Regions from separate parts of the Homo sapiens genome. Here all the other regions are linked to region 3. The links are contacts of gene promoters, found by promoter capture Hi-C in blood cells and fetal thymus (Javierre and others, 2016). All regions are on one chromosome and are shown on one strand. Each heading gives the region's core, a stretch centred on a gene start or on the middle of the fragment in contact. The rest is flanking DNA. Distances are from core to core; before and after follow the strand shown.

Region 1 (3,771 bases), core at 920-3,419, 2.1 Mb after region 3:
GGGAGGCAGAGGTTACAGTGAGCCAAGATCATGCCACTGCACTCTAGCCTTTGCTACATAGCAAGACTCTGTCTCAAAAAAAAAAAATGATTGCTTGAACCAACACCAACAGTTTCTTTCTTTGCAGGCTCTTGGTCCAGTGTTTCACCTTGCTACAGAAACCTTATAGTTCCTGTTGTTTCATTTCCTTTGTTTAGCTTTTCATTGTTATGCTTTTCTCTATATCTGTATTGATAGAGCTTATAACTTACATTGATTATATCAGTGGTAGAGTATTTGCTAGCAATCCTGATATAGGTATTTTACTGCTTAAGAATGTTAATTTTAATTGTAAGCTTCATAAGGGCAGGGACTGTGTCTCTCTTATTAACCAGCATATCTCAGTAGCTGGTACTGTGTTAATGAGTAATATGCTTTAATTGAATTAAAGGAAGAAGAAGTTATTTACTTTATCAGTTATCTAAGTGGGTTTCAGTATTAGTACTTTCTATATTTTATTTTTATGGAAGCTCTATTATTACAATTTAGTGTCTAATCAAGAAATAAATTACATTAAAGACATCTATTGAATATCTGCTATGTGCCAGGCATTGTATAAAGTGGTGTATAGGATATGAAGAAGTATAATATATGACCTTTGTCTTTAAGAAATTCACAATATAGTGGAAAGATAACTTGTTCATGAAAGCTTAATACCAGTGTAAGGCAGAATGTGAAGGGATGGTTCAGGGAAATAAGTATTGTAGGAGTTCCGAGGAAGTAGAGATCATTAAGGGCCTGAGGGCACAGATAGGGATTTACTGATGTGATAGGACCCTGAAAGGTAGATAAGATTTAGATAGGCAGAAGGGAGATTGAAGGGGCTTTTAGGTGGAGGGAACATGAGAGAAGGTGTAGACATGGGGCTATTTAAAAACAGTTTCAGAGACAATGTCTCACCAGTCTGAAAGGATAATTTATGGTGGGGAGCAGTGGAAGGGCGGTATTGTGGAGGACCTGTCACAACAGCCAAATGAGTTTGGATTTGTAAATCCGGAGGTATGGAAGGTTTTTGGATAAGGTACTGATAACATGAGAATATCATTTTTAGTAAATTAGTAAATTGAGAAAATTATATAAAATGGAGTACAAGGGACAAAAGCCATCAAAAGTAGGTAGATAGAAGTACTTTTCCGTTTTTTTTCTCACTAATTTCACCTAAAACCCTTGGATACTATGTATAAGAAACATAAGACTCAGGAAGGTGGAGAACAAGTCAGGCTGGTTAGAGACCTCAGGACACAAGGAAAGAAACAGACACGGTGGTGTGTACCCTGGGTTTTCTTTTTGCCTCGGGTACCCCAGACTGGGTACTGAAGAGCCAGCAGTCTGGAAATGCCAACAGACGCAGACAAAAACACCCCCAGAAAAGCCTGCCCTCTCTCACCAAAGGACCAAGAAGAAAAGGGAAATTAGCAAGGTAGAAAACTTTTAGATGATAACCCCTCTATTCCTTCCAAGCATAGGAAAAAACTGTGGACCCATCCCCTCCAGCAAAGGCTGAGGAAAAAGCCAAGATTTCCATCATCACCAGGTATAATGACATGCCCCAACACACCCTCCCTAACCCCCCACTAGAGTGGTGACAGAAGCCCAAGAGACAGCTGGAATTTCATTGATGCCAGGTGATAAGGAAGGCCCCTTCCTTACGCTGTCAGAGGTGACTTGGGAAGTCTGGATTTTTCCCATCTGGAAGTAGGGAGTAAAGAGGTAATTTTCCCCTCTTTGTGGCCAGGGTTCGGAGGCGTGGGTGTTAGAGAAAGCCTGGTGGACAGTCAGAACTTCCACTCCTGATCAGCGATAATGAGGCCACTCCCTCATAGTGTCACTGGAGGCCACAAAGGAAGCAGTAATGAGGTACCCCTCTCTCTCCCAGGCAGGGTAGAATCAGTTGATACTCCCTCCAACAATAACCAGGAGCCTCTCCATCCCCAGGTATCAAAGGAGACAGAGTAGAGAGCCTGGATTCCATTCCCATTGGGTGATACCTCCTCTCTCCTGCCAGAATAATGTCAGTAGATACTTATTTAACTTAATTAAAGTGAGAGTAAACTCTATTCTGAGGGATAAGGTGTCAGAAGAACTTCACATTTTGTTTGAGCATACATAATCCAACCCAAAATATCTATGATGAAACTGCAGTGTCATAAATGGTGGAACATTATTAATTTTTAATTTAGTAATTTATGCTTTATAGCATTTTAATTAGTACCAAGAGAGTAACCAAGAGTACTGAAGAGTAACCAAGTTCCATGTTGTATTTTTAAGTTTAGAAACCCTCAGTTGTGGCCGGGCAAGGTGGCTCATGCCTGTAATCCCAGCACTTTGGGAGGCTGAGTTGGGCAGATCACTTGAGGTTAGGAGTTCAAAACCAGCCTGGCCAACATGGTGAAACCCTGTCTCTACTAAAAATACAAAAATTAGCTGGCCATGATGGTGCACGCTTGTACTGCCAGCTACTTGGGAGGCCAAGGCAGGAGAATCACTTGAACCTGGGGGGTGGAGGTTGCAGACTGCATCTCAAAAAAAAAAAAAGAAATTCTCAGTTGTATTTTACTTCACCACCACAGAGAGGAGACAGCAGAGTGGCTGCTCTTTCAATTATGAACTTATACTTAGATATTTGTAGAGTTGGAGAATAAAATGACTTAGCTCTGGGTGAGAAAATAATTTAAAAATCAATTTAATTCATTTTCAGCTCAATTATGCCTAAGGAAACTAAAAATAAGTGCTGTTTTTGAACTATTATTTTTTTTCCCATGTTGGCACCCCAGAAACTTTATGAGCATCTGAATATAAACGTTTAAATTTTGGATGGGTAATGGCAGGCTTTTGTTAGTAAAACAATTTAATAGCAAGAGAGTTCTTAATGGTAGGAAGCCGTAATGAAAAATGTGTCAGTTATGTTGGAAAATGGAATATCATCATTTGAAATCTTAGGACTGTCATGGTAGTTCACAGTTCAGCAAACTTTTTCTGAAAAGAGGGCCAGATAGTAAATATTTTAGGCTTTGCAGGTCATGGAGGTTTCTGTCGCATATTCTCCTTTGCTTTTTGTTTTGTTTTTTACAGCCTTTTAAAAATGTAAAAATCTTTCTTTAGTTCACAGGCCTATAAAAATAGGCTGAAGGCTGGATTTAGTGGCATTTTAAAAATAGGCTGAAGGCTGGATTTAGTGGCAGTTTCTCCATTCCTGCCTTATCTTATTAGTCAATTGACTAAGGTTCTCTTTGTTTAGTTTGTCTAGTTCATGAATCATAAAGCGAACTTTTTTCACAGCACAGAGTAAAGACATTTTATAGCATAGCATCTGAATATACAAAGTCTCTTTAGGTTCAGCCAACTTACTCTGTAGTTTTCATTTAAAGTCAGTTCCTTTCTTAAAGAAAAATTAATATATCTGATTTTTTTTCTGTCTCTGTTATAGAAGAGGTTTAAAATTTTTTTTTGTCTTTTCTTTCCTTGTAAATTTGAGAAAAAGACAGAGGTTTATAGAAGTTTTTTCCACAAAATTTATTTGTGCATTAATCGATAGGCAACATAGTGTAAAACATAGCTAGCTGAATATTCAGAATATATTTTGTACATAAAGAGAATGTCGGGTTATATTTTAAGCTTTTGGAAATAGAGAAGGAGTGATTGTATCAGGACACTTGATATACTTCAACTTGTACTAGAACAGTTTTTAAGTGTTGATTCTGTACCTTCACTGTGTCACACTTCTGATACTAT
Region 2 (3,891 bases), core at 602-3,101, 2.1 Mb after region 3:
ACCACAAGGTTTTTCTTTTTTGTTGAAGTTTATGAGGAAAACCTGGTCACATACAGAAAGTAGTTGGGGAAAAATCCCTTTCAAATAATTGTAGATATTCTTCTTAGATCCAACACTAAAAGCAGTAAGTAGTTTTTAAAAAGTTGTTGCAATGTGGAATCTGAAACCATCAGGGAACCTTTTTTACTAGGTTACATTGAAATCATAATTCTATTGAAGCTGTCCTCAAAGGGTTAACAAGAATTCTGGAAGGAAATATAGTTATAATTGAGCATTAATCAGGCTGCACTCTGACCCACTTCCTTGTAACCAAAAGTCAGGTTACACTACATAGAGACCATTTGCGTTCCCATTGTTCCTATTGACAGAATTTCTGACATTAGGCTTTTTTTTTTTTTTTTTTTTGAGATGGAGTCTCTCTCTGTCACCCAGGCTGGAATGCAGTGATGCAATCTTGGCTCACTGCAACCTCTGCCTCCTGGGTTCAAGCGATTCTCCTGCCTCAGCCTCCCGAATAGCTGCGATTACAGGCACCTGCCACCACGCCTAGCTGATTTTTGTATTTTTAGTAGAGACAGGGTTTCACCATGTTGGCCAGGCTGATCTCGAACTCCTGACCTCAGGTGATTTGCCCGCCTTGGCCCAAAGTGCTGGGATTACAGGCATGAACCACCGCACCTGGCCCACTCAACTAATTTTTGTGTTTTTGGTAGAGACGGGGTTTCACCATGTTGGCCTGGCTGGCCTCAAACTCCTGACCTCAAGTGATCTGTCTGCCTTGGCACGGACTCCCAAAGTGCTAGGATTACAGATGTGAGCCACCGCGCCTGGCCAGGGCTTTTAAGATAGATAGGATCTCTGACATTAGAATCATAAAGGGTTTAAGAACTGCTTAAGCAGATCCTGAATTCCACCTGAACAGCTGATGCCAACCAGTTTAAAAACCCCCAGAGAGGAACGGAATCAATAACATCTCCCTGTCCCATGGCTTCACCCTGCACTCTGATCAATCTCTACACTTTGGCCTACTCCCAAACCTTTAAAATCCCTAGCTCCACATTCCTTGGGGAAATGGATTTGAGGTTTTCTCCCATCTCCTCATCTGGCAGCCCTACAATTAAACCTCTTTCTCTGCTACAACCTGGTGTCTTGGCATATTAACTTGTCACATATTGGGCGAAGGGCCCTATTATGGTTACACTATTTGCTTTAAGTGGATGTTTTGCTGGTACATAATTTTATAACATTGTGCATTGATCATTTGGAAAATATTGGTTCATTGAGTTATGGAGATCTTTCAAATGTTGGCACATTTAATTATACAATATAAAAAATTCATTAACATAATCACCAATTTATCAGAATGGTCTTTATGTATCTGGAAATTATTAAAATTGTAGTAGACAAACATTTTTCAAAATTTTAGTTTTCACTTGAAAGCCTGAATTTATCAGTGGCAACAAATATTGTCAGTTATCTTCCTTGAAGTGTGAAGGAAACCAGACTCTGTCACCCCAAAATATTCCTATTTGACATGAATATTATTTTGAGCTGAAGGCAATTAAGCAGCAGCAAAGGCAGGAAACACTCTCTCTACCCTCCTCCTTTTCTGTTTAAAGGCAGGATACAACTTCCTTTACTGGAGGCAACTCTACCATCTTACTAGCCCAGAGGTGGCACCAGAGGAATGTGCACACAAACCTTACTTCATTAGTTTCTTTCCATATATTTTCCTTCCCCAAGATTCCCAGCCCTGGAAGACTAAAACTGCTTTCCTTTGTCCTGTCATTTCTCTATAAGTTTATTGTATTTTGTTAAAGATGCTATATAAGCCAGAGTTTTACCTTCTTTGAATTACTCATTTCTAGTTATTCCTATGTTATATGCTCCATACATTTTAATAAACTTGCTTGTTTTTTTCACAGGGGACCCAGCCAAGAACTTAGAAGGGTAAGAGAAAAAGATTTTTTTCTTTCCCTACAACTGAAAGACTCACTGTTCATTTTCAAGAAAACTACTGTTTATCGCTTTCAACTAAAAATGGTGTTCCATGAAAAAAAGTGGTTGGTTCAGCTTTCTCTTTTCTTTTTTTTTTCTGAGACGTAGTTTCGCTCTGTCGCCCAGGATGGAGTACAGTGGCGCGATCTCGACTCACTGCAAGCTCCGCCTCCCGGGTTCACGCCATTCTCCTGCCTCAGCCTCCCGTGTAGCTGGGACTACAGGCGCGCGCCACCATGCCCGGCTAATTTTTGTATTTTTAGTAGAGACGGGGTTTCACCGTGTTAGCCAGGATGGTCTCGATCTCCTGACCTCGTGATCCGTCCGTCTCGGCCTCCCAAAGTGCTGGGATTACAGGCGTGAGCCACCGCGCCCGGCCTTCTCTTTTCTTTTTTTGAGACGGAGTCTCACTCTGTCGCCCAGGCTGGAGTGCAGTGGCGTGATCTAGGCTCACTGCAAGCTCCGCCTCCCAGGTTCACGCCATTCTCCTGCCTCAGCCTCCAGAATCGCTGGGACTACAGGCGCCCGCCACCACGCCCGGCTAATTTTTTGTATTTTTGGTAGAGACGGGTTTTGCACCGTGTTAACTAGGATGGTATTGATCTCCTGACCTCGTGATCCCCCCGCCTTGGCCTCCCAAAGTGCTGGCATTACAAGCATGAGCCACTGTGCCAGGCCGGTTCAGCTTTCAAGTTAAACAATGATACAAATGCTTTTCCTTGAGAAACTATCTTATCTCAGTTATGCCTCAAGAATTTTTTCTTTTTCTTTTTTTTTTTTTTGAGACGGAGTTTCGCTCTTGTTGCCCAGGTTGAAGTGCAATGGCACGATCTCAGCTCACTGCAACCTCCGCCTCCCGGGTTCAAGTGATTCTCCTGCCTCAGCCTCCCAAGTAGCTGGGATTACAGGCATGTGCCACCACGCGCAGGTAATTTTGCATTTTTAGTAGAGATGGGGTTTCACCACGTTGGCCAGGCTGGTTTCGAACCCCTGACCTCAGGTGCTCTGCCCGCCTCAGCCTCCCAAAGTGCTGGGATTATAGGCCTGAGCCACCACACCCGGCCAAAAGAAAAGCCTCAGGATTTAAGAGTTTATACTTTATGAGGTTGTACTTTATGAGTACTTCCCATTTTGTCACAAAAAAAATTTTTTAAAAAGTGCACTCAAAGACTGAAATTTAATAAAATTAAGAATTCTTACTGCTTCATCAAGGATATTCTTAAGTGAAACTGACTTAAAAAAAATTGAGTGTATTGTTCCAGGATAAACTATGAGATTCAAAGAAGTTGTTCAATACATTATTTCATCACCACTTGTGTTTCTTGTCAAGATTTATGTAAAAGAGGATCTTCAAGAATTAGTTGGTGCTGACACTGGATGGGTATAAGCAAAGCAACAAGTCCAGCTACATGAATAATTATGTCCATTTTAAAGGAATTATAATTCTGCAGATGACATAGTAACTCAGTCTTTATATTTGCAACTAAATTTCTTTCTTTTTTTTGAGACAGTCTTGCTCTGTTGTCCAGGCTGGAGTGCCGTGGCACCATCTCAGCTCACTGTAACCTCTGCCTCCCAGGTTCAAGTGATTCTCCAGCCTCAGCCTCCCGAATAACTGGGATTACAGGCATGTACCACCATGCCCAGCTAATTTTTTTTTTTTGTATTTTTAGTAGAGACAGGGTTTCACCATATTGGCCAGGTTGGTCTCAAACTCCTGATCTCAAGTTATCCGCCTGCCTTGGCCTCCCAAAATTCAGGGATTACAGGCATGAGCCACCTCGCCTGGCCTGCAACTAAATGTCTAATTTGGTGAGTTATTGCATCTTTGGAAAGTAGCACTCCCATGAGTTCTTTTACTGATTATCAGCTAGCAGGCATTCATTAGTCTTT
Region 3 (3,574 bases), core at 684-3,183:
TCATCTAATAAACTATAAGCACCCTGAAGGCAGAATTAAAATGTATCTGCCTGCTTGCACATGGTGGGTACATAACAAATATTTGTTGACTGAATATGATATAGGCATGTTACCTTATACGAATTCATTACTTCAATAAAATTTTATTGAATACCCACTGTGTTCCAGATCATATCCTAGATGCACCTAAGACATGGTACCAGCCATGAGGAGCTCACTGTCTCTGCTCACCCTCTCTTAGATAGAGCCACTGATATAAACAGTTACAATAACATATTGTAATAAATTCCGTAGTAGATGAAAGTACAAAGCACAAATTACTTTTCCTAAGAAGAAAGGATAGTTTAGAGAAGTTTTACAGAAAAAAAAGAGCTTTTAGATTAGAAATAAATCTTAAAGGACACAATATGGCTATAAGTGGTTCTAAGAATGAGGGCACTCATTCAGACAACCTGGGCTCAATTCTGGCTCTTCTATTTATCAGCAGTGCAATCTTGAGCAAACTGTTTCTGCTTCTACGTTAAAGAAATGGGGGTAAAAATAATACCTACTTCAAAGATTGATTCTGAGGATTCACAAGATACTACATGTAAAGTAATTAGCACTATGTACCAATCAATACATTGTAGTTTTATTACTATTATGACATTATTACTGATGAATAGGAGTCTGCCAGCTACCGAAGAGGTTTAGGGAATAAAGAGGATTCCGCATATCTGAGAAAAGGTGAATGTGCAGCCTATGAGAAATGTCACTTCTAATAATGCAACCTCCTATGGAACAAAAATGCCACCCTCCTTCAAGATGCCCTCCCAAGCCTGTTCCCCCATGGAGCTGGCCACTCCTTTGCACTTTCAGACTGTATTTCTTATGCTTTTCTTATGGCTTCAACTTCAGCTTCTCTTTAGTTGAGTGCATTCACCTGTCTAGGGAGTGCATGTTCATTGTCACGCACTATGAAGGTATAAGGTGATAATAGGCTTAAATCAGACTCAAGTTCATGACTACGATATAGGAAGGGTTATAAACCCCCACAAAAGGGGTTTCTAAGAACTGCACTTGGAGTTGGGAAATTCTACTTACTTGCTGACATAACTCGCCTTCTAGAATGGAAATAGCCAGAGCACATAGCCCGGTTTAGACTTGCAACACCTGGTGGAGACACCTTATTCATTCATTCGACAATTTACCAAGCACTGTTCAAGATTACAAAGTTTAACAGGACACGATGAAGGGAAAGAAAATAGACATATAAACAAATGATCACAACATCTTGTGATCAGTGCTAATAACAGCACTTTGGACAAATTGATTCAAGTTGCCCAGAGGGCGGAGCGAGTAATGCTAATACACAATAAGCATCCACAGGCTGAGCGAATGACCTTGAGGAACTGTTTGGCGTCAGCTACGGCACTACAAACATGACCAAAGCCGCACGGGGCCCAGGATGCCCGGGGCTACTGGCTTCGGGTGCCAGCGTCACTTGTACTCGGTCAACACACGTGCACAGAGCACCTACTGTGAGCCAGGCGTGACGCCAGGGTGACCAAGGCGGGGTCCGCAGAGTAGGGTCTCAGGGCGACCCCAGCAGCCTGGAAACGAGGCGGGCTTCCCATATGTCACTTCTAAGTAGGATATTGGAGGAATGAAGAGGTCTAAATGACACGTTAAGGTAAAAGCTGAGCCCGCAACATGCGGGCAGTCCACCACCGCGGGATTTGGGGAGGGGGCAGGTCAGCCCCCCCAGGAACCCTCAGCCAGCATCCCGAGGACCCCGCAACTCCTCTAACCCCAGGTCCAAGCTCACCCGTGAATCAGAACTTACCGGAGGCCACGGAGGCTGTTACCGCGAGGAAACTCTAGTCCTGGCGGAAGACCAACTTCTAGCAGATCCCCTTACCCTGGCTCTAGTCCACTAGCTCCTTCCTAGTCACAACCGAACTCACGGGGCGGAGGCCCTTAAGGAGCACTCGCATCCTTCAATCGCCGACTAGAAGCTCGCCCGGTGGGCGGAGCCGTGCCAGCTCAGGGCAGAGCGAGGAGGCAGAAGTCTCCGCCTTCCTCAAGCTTGGTTGAGAAGTCCACCTGCAGTTGCAAAGTACGGCTGTTTGAAAGCGGGCGCCAGAGGTGGCGGGAAGCTCCCCCTGTGCGCCCATTGGTGGATTCGAGAGCCAATTACGAGGAAGTCACCCCGGAGTGGGCGGGCTGATCGGTTGCCTAGAGACGCCGAGGCGCTTCACCCGCTACCTTCGGCCAGGGTGCAGCAGTCTTACGGGGACCCCTTGCCCGTTTGGTACCGGAGACTGCAAAGGTGACTCGTGCCTCCTGCGCTTCAGCACACAGAATCCCGCAGATTCCCCACCGAACTCTTGCCTTAGAGGTTTTTTACATTTGCCCTTGTTTTCTAAGGCGCCTGCTTCCCCATTATTTAACAGCCTTAGATATTTTGCTTTGTCTTCTACCTTACTAGGTGCCGCTTTGTTTACATTTTTGCTTCTTTAATTACTGATAAGATGGCACATTTTTCCACGTGTCTATTTACTACTCTAATTTCCTCGGGTGTGAGTGTTCTTGTCACTTAGGTGTATATTATTAACCTGCCCCTAAAGACAGCGCCACCCAGTCCTCAGTAAAGCCCAGTACTGTGTCTATCTTCTCTGGCTGAAAGGGTTCCAGTGAATAATCAAGGAATTGGTGGCGGCAGGTTCACATATCCTTTCAACCCTTTCCCATGTGTACTGGCACGGAGTAAAATGGTTGTTCGAGGCTCTTCATACTGTGGCTGGTTTTCCTTTGCTACTTCACCGTCCGCCCCCATGATGCCTACACTGACCCCTGTAACCCCATAAACTGGTATAGGGTTTGGCAAACAACAGGTAATTTAACCCACTGTAATAGAATGAACGAAATCACAGCCTGAGCTAACAATGGTTCCCAGAGCGCTTTTTTTCTTTCACCTGCTGTGAAAGCTGTTTCTTTCACCTGCATCGCCTCTACCTTCTCCTGCTACTTAGTTTTGAAGACAGACTAGCACCTCCTTTGAAGCCTTTCATGACACACACTCCCTCACTTCGCAAAAATGATCTTTCCTACCTCTGTACACAGTGTATCCTATATATCCTATTATAGTTCTTTTATCTACTGTAAGTTTTTGTGTGTCTTACACTCAGTACAACGTGAATATCTTGAAGTACTCACTTTACTTCTTGGGTGTCTAACATGACCCTGGTAGGCACTCAAAACAATTATGTTAAATGAGTAAATGAATAAATGAACAAATAGATGAAGATTTTGGCAGGGGGGCAGGCAGAAAAAGCAAATAAAAGGCCTTCAAGTAAATGGCATTTGTTGAATCTGAGCCAAGGCATCTTAGTGAGAATTAAATGCACTTTTCACTTTTCACATCCCACTGAAGTCGATTGGCAAACTGTATGTTGCATTCTGTGCTGAGGGTTATGATGGAGTGCTGCAGCAAGAATGCCAGGTGATCCCCATGCACAAACAACTGCTTCTTAGAAGGATGAAAGCATAAAACGTGTCAGGGTAAGCACATGAGGAGGCAGTGTTTATAATC

What was found. Contacts are between HindIII fragments. The CHiCAGO score rates a contact against its expected background, and 5 or more counts as called.
Region 1: a contact is called between a fragment that was not itself captured here and the fragment with the promoter of CEP152 in region 3, in 1 of 17 cell types (total B cells). The highest score is 5.8, in total B cells.
Region 2: a contact is called between a fragment that was not itself captured here and the fragment with the promoter of CEP152 in region 3, in 5 of 17 cell types (non-activated CD4 T cells, naive CD8 T cells, total CD8 T cells and 2 more). The highest score is 11.4, in non-activated CD4 T cells.

The regions. Positions count from the first base shown.
Region 1 is chr15:50,936,865-50,940,635 of GRCh38, forward strand. The region is part of intron 8 of AP4E1 (adaptor related protein complex 4 subunit epsilon 1); the gene reads left to right. Among named protein-coding and RNA genes, the nearest start is that of AP4E1, 30 kb to the left of the region's middle. The HindIII fragment of the contact is 2,966 bases long and covers 687-3,652 here.
Region 2 is chr15:50,901,095-50,904,985 of GRCh38, forward strand. No RefSeq gene overlaps it. Among named protein-coding and RNA genes, the nearest start is that of AP4E1, 5.6 kb to the right of the region's middle. The HindIII fragment of the contact is 4,281 bases long and covers 1-3,891 here.
Region 3 is chr15:48,809,136-48,812,709 of GRCh38, forward strand. CEP152 (centrosomal protein 152) reads right to left here and starts at 1,934. Exons shown (of 27, transcript NM_001194998.2): 1 at 1,826-1,934. It overlaps LOC124903487 (a long non-coding RNA gene), which reads left to right and starts at 1,563. Exons shown (of 2, transcript XR_007064626.1): 1 at 1,563-1,672; 2 at 1,796-2,774. RefSeq lists enhancers at 1,084-1,645, 2,304-2,363 and a silencer at 1,938-2,128. The HindIII fragment of the contact is 4,992 bases long and covers 1-2,065 here.